Linked DNA regions of Homo sapiens: all the other regions are linked to region 2. Evidence: promoter capture Hi-C in human tissues and cell types (Jung and others, 2019). All regions are on one chromosome and are shown on one strand. The core of a region is centred on a gene start or on the middle of the fragment in contact, and the rest is flanking DNA. Distances in the headings are between cores, read along the strand shown.

Region 1 (3,775 bases), core at 842-3,341, 460 kb after region 2:
TCCCTAGCCTGCCCCAGTCCTGCCCACCTCCTGCCCCACTTGCCCAGCCAATGGGCCCCTGGGACTGAGATCAGCTGTGGAGGATATGAACTGCTCAAAAAAAAAAAAAAAAAAAAAAGTGAAAAGGTCTCCAGCCCAAAGGCAAGAGACTGCCCTACCCACACCTTGCTCCTGCAGCCCTTCTGTATTTACCTGTTTCAAGTGACTCCGTTCCTAGATACCTACTACGTCCTACTCCTGGCCCATCTTCTTCACCCTCCTCCCGTTTGTTCCCCTACCCAGAGCTTCTTTCTACAGATTCCATCTTCCCCTCCTTATGGATTGGGGATCAGAGGATCAGACTCAACCTCACAATATCTTTTCAGATTTTTTTCCCCAGGGCCTCACCAATCCAGGCCTTCCCAAGGTCACCCCTTTCTTCTCCCCATCTCCAAGGTTAGTTTCTGTCCCTTCCCTCCACCCTCACTATCAACATTCCTATTGCCCTTAGGATGTGCCAGGTCCAGTCCTTAGCATTTTACATATTGATTTTTCACAGCCCTATGAGGTGGCCACTGTTAATATTTTAGAGAGGAAAATTAGCTCCATAGATCCAGAGAAGTGCAGTCCGTTGGCCAAGGCTACACAAGTGGAAAGCGGCAGAGCAAGGACATGCATCCACCCATGTAACCACTACTCTCCTATCTGTCAACTGTAGTTCAAAGCTCTTCTGCAACCCATTGCCTCTCCCCGTCTAAAGATAGGCTTCCACCTAGGTTTTTTGCAGTGTAATCTTGCCCTTAGCAGCATCCACCTGAAGGGATTGTGACCCTTTTGACAAGAAACAAAGCCTTCTCAAGTGTTTCTAAGAAATGTGGGCAAAGTGCCCTGTCTGTACCTCTCTCCCTCCTTTTTTCCCCTCATTAATTCAACAAATATTAATCGTCTCCTCTGTACAGTGTCCAGAACACACGAATTCTCTGTCTTGATATTCGATCAAGAGACACAGGAATCAAACAAATTTTTTACACAATTCATTTTAAAATCAGAATTGTGGCAAAGGAGCAAAGAAATACAAGGCCCTATGCAGCCTGTGACAGGGACCTGTTCTCTTCTTTCTTCTTCTTGAAGAGGGATCTTTGCCCAGAAGAAAGTCCCTCCCTTACAAAGTCAGTTTCATTCTCCAAACCCTGAGGGAGAAGGTCTTGCGGTCTTCCCCTGTTCCTCCAAGGAGCCTCCCCTGAATACCAGTGGCAGCTAATAAGGAACCCCCATCTCTCTCTTCAAGTCGTCTCCCTCAGGGCCCACAAAGAAGTTGCAAACGGGTTTTTTCCTCTCCTAAAGAAGTGGAAGTTCTTTTCGTCTCCTAAGGAAGTGGCAGATCTTCCCTTCGGTGTCTTCTCCAAGGAGTCTCCCACTCTTTTTCCCTTTTGTGACAGCCCTTCCTTCATATCCTTCAGGGACCCCACACTCTGAAGATAGCCTTTACATCCCTAATCCCCTTTGGGAAAACCGCCTGGGGCCCAGGTACTCACAGATCTAGCCAGTCCCCGAGCCCCAGGCTGCCGCAGCAGCAGGAGGGCAGCCTGGCTCAAACCACGGTTTAGCCGCCAGACCCTCGCTGCAGCGATCGCTACCGCCATCTTGGCTAACAACCACTCAGCGGTCCGGCACTCACGTAGGCTAGATTCGGGGCTGCCTCTTTATGTGCCTGACGCAAACTCCAGCACCATCTGACAAGAAAACCATCTTCTTCCCGTTCTGTGGTAGATAGAATGCACAGAGATTTGGAGAAAAAAAAATCTATCTACCCAAAATTTTCTCCAATCGCCTCATTGTAGTTACTCCTGTAACAGGCAAAGAAGAGGGCAACCTGACCAGGGCCTCAGGGATTTAGGGCCCGGGGGCCCAGAGTAAAGCGGATCAATGCCAAGGCCTGCCTTCTGTTCCCAAATGTCCAATGGCGTTGCCAGAGTTAGGAGGTGGGACTGGGCGGAGCCAGATTGTTGGTAAACGCTAAGCCACGTGCGGACGCCCAGGAGGATGGCCCAGCCCGGCGCGTGCGCACTGGTTACGCAGCCTGTTTGCGGCGCGCGCTGCCAGGCGGAAGTGACAACTGCAGCCGCACGTGGGCTCGGCGCGATGGAGGAGGAGACGCATACTGACGCCAAAATCCGTGCTGAAAATGGAACAGGGTCCAGCCCTCGGGGTCCTGGCTGCAGCCTCCGGCACTTTGCCTGCGAACAGAACCTGCTGTCGCGGCCAGATGGCTCTGCTTCCTTCCTGCAAGGTAAGAACTTCACCCAGGTCTTTCTTTTGGAGAGGGACTACCGTGTACTGTGCAACCGAGTGCCCACCTCCTCACGATACCAGCTGGTAAATGTCACTCCTGCGTTGATGCATGATTTCTTGTCCGATTGAATACTACTAAATACGCAGGGATACACACATCTCTCCCTCACGACTAGAAAGGAGAAGATAGTTCCATCTTTGTAACTATCTCTGAGAATGAGAGGAGGGGCAGACTGTCCGCCCAAGAATTGATATTTCAGAATAGGGAAAATCACCTCGCCAGGGTAAATATCCCCCTTAACTCGATTCCTCCTCCACCCTCCCACCCCCACCCCCCACACACACACCCTCTAGGTCCTTGCATCCCGGACTGAAGCAAACCTGTCTATTTGCATACTGTGGACTGTGGCGGATCTTTCACCCACGTAAATACTCCTCAAATTGAAGATAATGTCATTGCGCTGGGTTGAGAAATACATCCCCACCGCTACCTCACTGCATCTCTCCACACAAGTAAATATCCCTAAGATTAGGGCAAGTCAAAAAAAAAAAAAAAAAAAAGATTAGGGCAAGTCTTACCTATAGAGCAAATATCCCCTTTTCCTAGCTAAATAACTCTCAGAAGTAGATTAACTCCAAGAATATTTCTCTTTAACGTTTGAGACGGGAGGCCGGGGGCGGTGGCTCACGCCTGTAATCCCCACACTTTGGGAGGCCAAGACCTGTGGCTCACCTGAGGTCAGGAGTTCGAGACCAGCCTGGCCAACATGGCGAAACCCTGTCTCTACTAAAAATACAAAAACTAGCCAGGCATGGTGGCGGGCGCCTGTAATCCCAGCTACTCGGGAGGCTGAGGCAGGACAATCACTTGAACCTGGGAGGCAGAAGTTGCAGTGGGCCGAGATCGTGCCATTGTACTCCAGCGTGAGCGACAAAGCAAGACTCTGTCTCAAAAAAAAAAAAAATTGAGACAGCGTCTCACGATGTCACCCAGGTTGGTCTTGAACTCCTGGGCTCAAGCAATCCTCCTCCCAAAGTGCTCATACAGGTATGAGCCACCACGCCCAGCCCCAATACATTTTAACAAAATTTGGCTGCTGTGTTGATTGTGGGGAGTATGGGGGAAAACAGGGAGGTGATGGTGGCTCCAGCCAGAGCAGGAGTAGTGGAGGTGATGAGATTCTGGATGTAGTTTGAAAGTAATACGGACAAAACTTACGTATAGTTTGGTTTGAGTGCGAGGAAAAAGATTCAGGCATAACTAAGGTTTCTGCCCAGATCTGTACAAGTCTGGAAATCAGAAGAGAGACCCAAGCTGGACATAGGCAATTTGGAACTCTCTGGCTATATAGATGGTATTTCAGGCTATTGCCTGAACGAAGTGAGTGTAGATGGAAAAGAGAAGAGGTCCCAGGACCAAGCCCTAGGCCTTCCAACTTGAGCAGTCAGAGACATGTGACAAGCTAGCAAAGGAGACTCAGAAGGAACGCCCAGAGAGTTAGGG
Region 2 (4,236 bases), core at 49-2,548:
CTACTCAGGAGGCTGAGGCTGGAGGGTCACTTGAGCCTGGGAGGTTGAGGCTGCCGTGAGCCATGACTGTGCCACTGTACTCCAGCTTGGGTGACAGAGGCTGTCTTAGAAAAAATGGTTTGAGGTCAGAAAGTTCACATTTTGATGAGGAGAGGGGCAGCATTGGAGTGTGTTAACTCAGTAGGAAAAAACAATTCCTAAGGAATCAGACAGAACGTATTTTACTCAGTCATTTATTCTGAGCTCCCAAGGAGGAGCTGCAGGCAAGTCCTGTGCTCTGAGAGTGCTTATTCTCTGAGGGGGAGACATAGATGGACATAGATAGGCACAGCTCAGGGTGATCAGGACTATGAAGTAGAGACCAGTGGCCCCTTGGGAACATAGGGAACTCTGCCTGAGAGGCTTAACATATTATTTTGAGTTGGATGAAAAGGATGAACTTTGGTTTTGTGAAGAGTTCAGGATCTTGTGAAGGCCCATGCAGGGTAGGGGTTATAGGACTGTATTTATGCAAACGTGTCAGGGCTGCAAAGCCAGCTACACAATGGAACAGGGGTGCAGAATGAGGCCTATGTGGACGAAGCAATGAGGGTCTGCGTATAGGCTGGATGGGATAAGTGTATGATGTCAGTTCTACGTTGGACGAGAATTGAGGTCAGGAGTGGAGCAAGTTAATGTAGGGCTGAAGCGAAAGGAGCATGGATTCCCAAAGGGCAGAATGTGAAATAAGCTCCTGAAATAAAACCTGGGTGACTGTGGGGAGGAGTCTTGTGAGGAGAGAGAGGAACAGGGACGGTGCTTCATAGTTGGGACCTCATTGGTTAAGTCTGCAGAGTGCCAAGAGGGTACACAAAGAAGGTTTAGAAGGGAGATGATTTACTCAGTACTTTATTGGACCATGGCAATACCTTTCCCTACCTGGCACTGGGAAGTGGGAAAGGGGGCAGTATAGGAAACAGTGCTCACAGTCTATTATCTGTAATCTCTCAGAGCCAAGAAGAGGCCAGGAGCCTACTGGCTCCCTACAACCACAGGTGAAGAGTGCTGCACCTGAACAGGCAACAACTTAGGAGCATGAGCAACTCTTAAATCTGCTCTTTTCCCTAAGACTGACATCTGCAGAAGCTCTGGCCCTTTCCCTCAGGCACTAATGGGGGGCCCTAACGATTTGAAAGACAAAGTTGGCCTGGCCAACTGGTGTGAAAAGCCTTGCCCAGGCTGGGTACTGAAGGCCGGGTACTGGAGGAGAGGTGAAGGAGAGGTGGCCTCTAGTCTACTCCTTCCCCCAATCTCCATCACTTCCTCTTTTCCTCCCCTTTTCATGCCATCCTTTAACCCCAAATTATACTTTCTCTTTTACCCTTCTCAGCTCTGTGACCTTGGTGTACAGAGGACCCTTGGTCAGTGCTGAGTAGCAGAATCTCAGCCATGTTGCATGTTGCAGTGCTTCCTTTCTCTGTGACTTTGTGGCCCTGGTCATCTGTCACTAGGAAAGCATGGCACACCAAGTCTTAGGCAGGTCTATTAAGGAGCAATCATATATCTAAGTTATAGCTAAGGGGAGGGAAGAAGGGTGTGAAGCCGACTTTGGTCTCCTGATATCTCAGTATCTCCTGAGAAGTGCTGCAGGTTTGTTACTCTGTACTCTGCTAGGGAGGAGAAGAAACCCACCCTCTCAAAATCCCAAATAAGAAATAACAAGTTGTAATTGGATGTCATCACCATCAATCATCTTGAGTAAAACAAGGGGTGTAGGTAACATCAGGAAAAAGAATCAGTGATCAAGCACATCCCTTGAGCCCCTTCTAAGGGTGGGAATGGGAAGGGGGTCTCCAGGCTTCATGTCTTTGGAATAGCTCAACAGGTTTTCCTATGTACGGAATGGTTCAAGGAGAAGGACTTGACACCAGAGGACTGAGAAACAAATGCAGGTAAGATCTTATTCTTAATGATATCTTGAGGAGAAAAATAAAAGACTTTTTTGAAAAACTCTTGACTTGTATGTATCTTCTGGAGTCCTGATTGGGGAAAGGAGTGGTGCATCTTTCATTCTATGCTTTTATTTATTTGTTTTTATAGAGACAGGGTCTCCCCGTGTTACTCAGGCTGGTCTCAAACTCCTGGGCTCAAGCGATCCTCCTGCCTTGGCCTCCCAAAGTGCTGGGATTACAGGTGTGAGCTATCACACCCGGCCCAATGCTTTATAAACATTATTAACTAATTTGGAGCCTGGCAAAGAGAAGGAACCCTCCTCTGATCTCTGCCTAGAAATTTCCCCTAAAACACTTGGGCAAGTTACTTTACCTCTTTAAGCTTGTTTCTTCACTTGTAAAATGGGAACCATCCTGCATAACTTCCAGGGTTGCTGTGAAGATATGTGAATCAAATGGAGTGGGCACTCAATAAATGGTAATAAATGTTTCTTAACCTTTTATGGATCCTTCGAAACTCAGACACGTGAACCTCCCTAGTTGAGGAAAAACTTGTGATAAAGACTAACTCGATTCTTTCTATTCTGGTTAGCCTCAATTTCCCCATCTGGAAAATGTATCAAATTGGTATTCCACTGGCCAAAGCTAGCCTGAAAATATGTTTTATTTGGCACGTATAGAATTTAAAGAAGAAAACTGAGCCAACATTTGAAAATTAAGATGTTTTACATGGAAATCTAGTTTTCCAGTTTCTCTTAAAAAATCAGAAGATGGAGCAACACTGAGTCCACATTCCCGCCTGGCAGTAATCTGCTAGGGCCAAAAGGAGGCTGCTCCTTAGGCAAGGCATCCATTCTCAGTTTGCCAGGGTCCATCTGGCCTTCTTTACTCATTTATTTGATCTGCTCAGCCCTGTAGGCATTTCGATTTGTAGCCCCTCTAGACAGCTGGAAACTGTCTATGCCTGGCACAGAGCGGGCAATTAATCAGTGAATCCCCCATTATTTCTTTACATCATTTTTTTTTATTTGGACAAAGAAAAAAATCCAAGTTTGTTTTCATCTATGGTAGCTATTGGATAACAGATTTTTCACTTTGAGAAGCGAAATGAACAAGTCCTTTCTGTCAGTCAGGATAGACTAGGTTAGGCTGTGGTAACACTCTCCAAATCTCAGTGGCTTACAACAACAAAGGTTTATTTCTTGCTTACTCACACAAACCTAGACACAAAATGAAAACACTCTCCTGTTTTCACATGCATGGAGACAGACATGAATGCATAGGCATTTACAGAATCATGGAATCCTGGGATGTAAACTCATGCAAACACGTTTATAGATACTGGTCAGCTTAAATAGCACAACTCTCTCTTTATTGGGGATTTCAAGAGATCCCAGGACCCAAGAAGGGTACAAGAATATCCACTGTCAGCCAAGGAAATGCCCACACTACCAAAGGAACTGAAAGCTAATGAAGCACCTGAAAGCTTAAACAAACAAACAAACAAACAAACAAAAAAGCCCGAAGCTTGTACTACATTAAATTCCATGCATAAATCCTTAAGTAAGACACTAAATATACAGTGCCAGCAGGCTGTCACCTCCCTGCCATAGCAAGACAGCCTCCATCTCTGGGTTTCTAGCTCAGGAGGGAGATGGACCCCAGACGGCCAATATGCAGAGCAACAGAGGGGGCTGGGCTGGGTCGAAGACAGGGGCCAACAGGCTGGAATCCTCTTCCTCCAGCAGGAGCTACAGGCAAGAAGGAAGGGGCAGGATCAGGTCACACCTGTTTTTCCTTCTAGCAACCCCCTCTTTTTACCGAATCCAATCCAGGCCTCATCATTGTTCTCCTGGATTATTTCACAGACCTCCTTGCTAATTTTCCCACCTCCAGTCTTGCCTCCTCCAAACCGTCCATCAAAGCCACCCACTTGTCTTTCTAAAGCTCAGGGTCTCTGAATTTGTCCTTGCTTAGTTCAGAAACGTTCCCTGGCTCCCCTTCACATACAGTTGCTGTTCTAGACACCTAAGCCTGGCATGCCAGATCTCCACCATCAGAAGCCTCTCCAGCCTCCTTTCCCTCTGTTCTAGCATTTCCTCCAGGCCAGTCTGCCCAATCCACTATTTGGACAAGAGAATTCGCAGCTTTCCCTGTCTGTCCCCCTAGGTGTTTCTCACTCTTCAAGGTTCCTCCAATCTTCTTCAGGTTTGTCACTGAGCCTTGTGAAGGCATCCAATTTCCCTAACTAGAACGTAAGCTCCTTGAAGGCACTTATCAGACCTCCTCCCAGGCCAGACCCCAC
Region 3 (3,876 bases), core at 1,377-3,876, 450 kb before region 2:
TTTTTTTTGAGACGGCGTCTCGCTCTGTCTCCCAGGCTGAAGTGCACTGGTGCCATCTCGGCTCACTGCAAGCTCTGCCTCCCAGGTTCACGCTATTCTCCTGCCTCAGCCTCCCAAGTAGCTGGGACAACAGGCGCCTGCCACCACGCCCCGCTAATTTTTTGTATTTTTAGTAGAGACGGGGTTTCACCGTGTTAGCCAGGATGGTCTCGATCCTGACCTCGTGATCTGCCCACCTCGGCCTCCCAAAGTGCTGGGATTACAGGCGTGAGCCACCGCGCCCAGCCTTTTTTTTTTTTTTTTTTTAGACAGGGTCTCACTGTGTTACCCAGGCTGGTCTCAAACTTCTGGGTTCAAGCGATCCTCGCACCTCAGCCTCCCCAGTAGCTGGGACTACAGGCATGCATCACTGCACCTGGCTCCCTCAGACTTTATTTGTTTGTTTATTTTTGTAATTAAGACAGAGTCTCGCTGTGTCACCCAAGCTGGGCCACTGTTGCCCAGGCTGGGCTGCAGTGGCGCGATCTCAGCTCACTGCAACCTCTGCCTCCCAGACTCAAGCAATTGTCCTGCCTCAGCCTTCCCAAGTAGCTGGGACTACGGGCGTGTGCTGCCATGCCTAGCTAATTTTTTTTTTTTTTTTGTATATTTAGTAGACACGTGGTTTCGCCATGTTGGCCAGGCTGGTTGACCTCAAGTGATCCGACCATGTCAGCCTCCCAAAGTGCTGGGATTACAGGCATGAGCCTCCATGCTGGCCTCCCTCAGACTTTAAAATCAAGCTATTCCACGATATTCCCCAAACCTAATAAGAAAGTGATTACCTGTGTCTTTTCTTTCTGCTTGCCCATTCTTCATTATCTTTCAGACCCAGCTGAGATACTACTCCTAGGAAACCCATAGTCCTCAGAGTCCTTCTCCTCTTCCTCCCCAGAGGTCCCTGTCTCTCCCTCAAACACAACTTTGACACCCCTACACCTCTGTGTCTGGATCTGTCTCCCTAAACACATTGGGACAAGGTCAGGAGCTGACCCACTCATTTACTACTCATTCAGCAAGCACTTGTGGAATAACCACTGTGTGCCCGGCCCAGTTCCAGGAAAGTGGATTGAAAACATAAACACAATGAATAACACTCATCTCTGTCTCAGTATCAATCCACCTCGAAGGAATGAATACATGGGAAGGTCCCACCTGGAGTGAGGCTACAAGAACATGACCAGGACGTTTAGCAGGGAGTGAGCCCCCCACCTGGTCCCAGAGAAGAGGGAGATCTGAGAAGACACTGAGGTCTGAGATTAATTTGGGGCAGCGTTGGGGGAGAGGCGCGACCCTAGGTGGCCTTGGCTATGGATGTAGGTTTCAGAGCTCAGACATACCCAGTTGGCCTGTGGGTTTAGAGAGAGTGTAGAGGCTGCAGATCTGCAAGATGATCTGCCGGAGGGACGCCAGACTGGACCTGAGCCCTGGAGGCGTCTCTAATTTCCTTTCTCTTTCTGCACCTTCTTCTACCCTCCAAGCAGGTCCTATGGTGTCTTGAATGCAAAGATATGTAGTTTATATGTTATGCCACGCGCGCGCACACACACACGGTGTTTTGAGTAGGGGTCCTGTGATGTCTTGAATGCAAAGATATGTACTTTAGATTTCAACACACACACACACACACACACACACACACACACACACACACCCACGGTGTTTTGAGTAGGGGAAGCCCACGAGTAGATAGGCTCACTAAAGCCCTGGCGCGGCCTTAGAGTGGCTCCTTAGAAGGGAGCCTCGAATTTTCACATTTTGTCATCTTCCTTTTCTGTCCCCCACATCAGTAGAAAATAGGAGCGTCCCCCCCAGCCAGGTGCATTCGAGCCACCCCTTCAAGGGAATATAAGAATGGACTCGTCCACTCGCTCCCCTCCCCCCACCACGTGAATGGGTCACCCCCCCCCCCGCAACAGTAGGTGGTCCCTTCCGCACATTTCACTCTGTACAGCAAATGGTTTCTTCCCATTTGCTAGACAGAGGGCTAGATTTTCCCCGCCCACTCTCGACTCTTCAGGTAGTTCGCCCCTCCCCGTGACCGGTGGGTGGTTTCTCCCTCCTCCCCGCCTCGGGAGCTGGATGGTCTCGCCTCTCCCTCCCCCCACCCCGTGCCGGGTGCGCGGCCTGGGAGTCAGCGGCCCGAGCGGGAAGCGCCGGGCGAGCCCACTGTGCGGCCGTCGTGGGGGAAGCGAAGGTTCCTGATTCCACCTACCTCCTAAGTGAAGGCTTCCGTCCCTGGAGAGGAGGCGGCGCCCTGTATCGGCCTTCGTCCTCCGCGGGTGTGCTAGCGTTGGGACGGTCCTTTGTTGCCGCGAGGGGTAGGAGTGGGCGTGGCGGAGCCAGCTCCGTTCGGAACACTCCCGGGCCGACCCGACTCGCTCATCCTGCAGGAGCTGCGGCGCCAAGATGAGTGGAGAGGAGAACCCAGCCAGCAAGCCCACGCCGGTGCAGGACGTACAGGGCGACGGGCGCTGGATGTCCCTGGTGAGCGTTCCCACCTGGGATATTGAGGAGTCCGGGGGCGCGGGGGGTGGCTCAGGAGAACGGCTGGTTCGTGCCACTCTCACTACCTGATTGGGAAACTGAGGGCAGTTGAGGAGGCGCTGCCTAAGGGAGCAGGGCGGGGCGGGCCCTGGAGCGTGCATGCCATTGACTCCCTCTCGCGCGCTCCCGCAGCACCATCGGTTCGTGGCTGACAGCAAAGATAAGGAACCCGAAGTCGTCTTCATCGGGGACTCCTTGGTCCAGCTCATGCACCAGTGCGAGGTGAGGGCAGTCCCTCTCCCCCTGCCCCATCCAGCCCTGTGTCCATGCTGACACATCTGGACCAGAACCCAGGCCAGGTGAGGTATTATGAGAGTACCCAGATTGGCCTCAGGCAGCCCGAGGCTCTGAGAATCTTGGTGTAAGGTGCAACATTCTATTGAGAAAGAAATGTATGCCTTGGTTTTATCAGATTGGATTTGTGTATAATGTACTAAGACCTAAAATGAGGCTTTCCTGCCATAGGCTTGCCTAAAGTGAGGCTCTTTCTTGTTTGCTTTAAGTAGTGCGCAGCCCTGTTGGGTTTACACAAAGCTATAGTCACTTTACAGGAAGCGAAGGGCAACTCTAATGGCACTCCACAAAGAGGACTCAATCATAATAATATCTTTCCACAAAGCATGTCCAACTGTAATGGGTTTCATCAAAATAAGTTTCAACTGTAATGCCATTGATTCAATGCATGGCTCAAGCAGACTGGATTTTCATGAAGTGAGTCTTGCTTCTATGGGGCTTGGTTTGTTTTGTTGGTTGGTTGGTTGGTTGGTTGGTTTTTGAGACAGGGTCTTGCTCTGTCACCCAGGCTGGCGTGCAGTGGTATGATCTCTGTTCACTGCAACCTCTGCCTCCTGGGCTCAAGTGATCCTCCCACCTTAGTCTCCGAGTAGCTGGGACTACAGGTGCACATCACCATGCACCTGGCTAATTTTTGTAATTTTTGTAGAGATGGGGTTTTGCCCTGTTGCGCAGGTTGGTCTTGAACTCCTGGGCTCAAGCAGTCCGCCCACCTCAGCATGAGCAACAGAGCCTGGGGCTTGGTTTAAAGTGAGAGACTCTAGGCAGGGTGTGGTGGCTTACGCCTGTAATCCCAGCACTTTGGGAGGCCAAGGCAGGCGGATGACCTGAGGCCAGGAGTTCGAGACCACCCTGGCCAACATGGCGAAATCCTGTCTCTACTAAAAATACAAAAATTAGCTGGGCATGGTGGCACATGCCTATAGTCCCAGCTACTTGGCAGGCTGAGGCAGGAGAATCGCCAGAACCTGGGAAGCAGAGATTGCAATGAGCCGA

What was found. The method cuts DNA at HindIII sites, captures the fragments that hold promoters and counts their contacts. A contact is called where the count stands out against the background at its distance.
Region 1: the fragment with the promoter of EXOSC5 here is called in contact with a fragment that was not itself captured in region 2 in 4 of the 25 tissues and cell types used here (adrenal gland, bladder, dorsolateral prefrontal cortex and 1 more).
Region 3: the fragment with the promoter of PRR19 here is called in contact with a fragment that was not itself captured in region 2 in 1 of the 25 tissues and cell types used here (heart right ventricle).

Annotation. Positions count from the first base shown.
Region 1 is chr19:41,395,675-41,399,449 of GRCh38, reverse strand. It overlaps EXOSC5 (exosome component 5), which reads left to right and starts at 2,091. Exons shown (of 6, transcript NM_020158.4): 1 at 2,091-2,269. The coding sequence starts at 2,122. It overlaps BCKDHA (branched chain keto acid dehydrogenase E1 subunit alpha), which reads right to left and starts at 1,632. Exons shown (of 9, transcript NM_000709.4): 1 at 1,515-1,632. The coding sequence starts at 1,622. RefSeq lists enhancers at 777-1,448, 1,604-1,883, 1,449-2,121 and a silencer at 1,880-2,168. The HindIII fragment of the contact is 15,471 bases long and covers 1-3,775 here.
Region 2 is chr19:41,851,030-41,855,265 of GRCh38, reverse strand. It overlaps DMRTC2 (DMRT like family C2), which reads right to left. Exons shown (of 9, transcript NM_001040283.3): 9 at 2,933-3,682. The coding sequence ends at 3,570. Among named protein-coding and RNA genes, the nearest start is that of RPS19, 7.1 kb to the left of the region's middle. The HindIII fragment of the contact is 8,258 bases long and covers 1-4,236 here.
Region 3 is chr19:42,300,882-42,304,757 of GRCh38, reverse strand. It overlaps PRR19 (proline rich 19), which reads right to left and starts at 2,626. Exons shown (of 3, transcript NM_199285.3): 1 at 2,255-2,626. PAFAH1B3 (platelet activating factor acetylhydrolase 1b catalytic subunit 3) reads left to right here and starts at 2,134. Exons shown (of 5, transcript NM_002573.4): 1 at 2,134-2,526; 2 at 2,719-2,808. The coding sequence starts at 2,449. RefSeq lists a silencer at 2,020-2,239 and enhancers at 1,793-2,447, 2,400-2,529, 2,610-2,659. The HindIII fragment of the contact is 37,239 bases long and covers 1-3,876 here.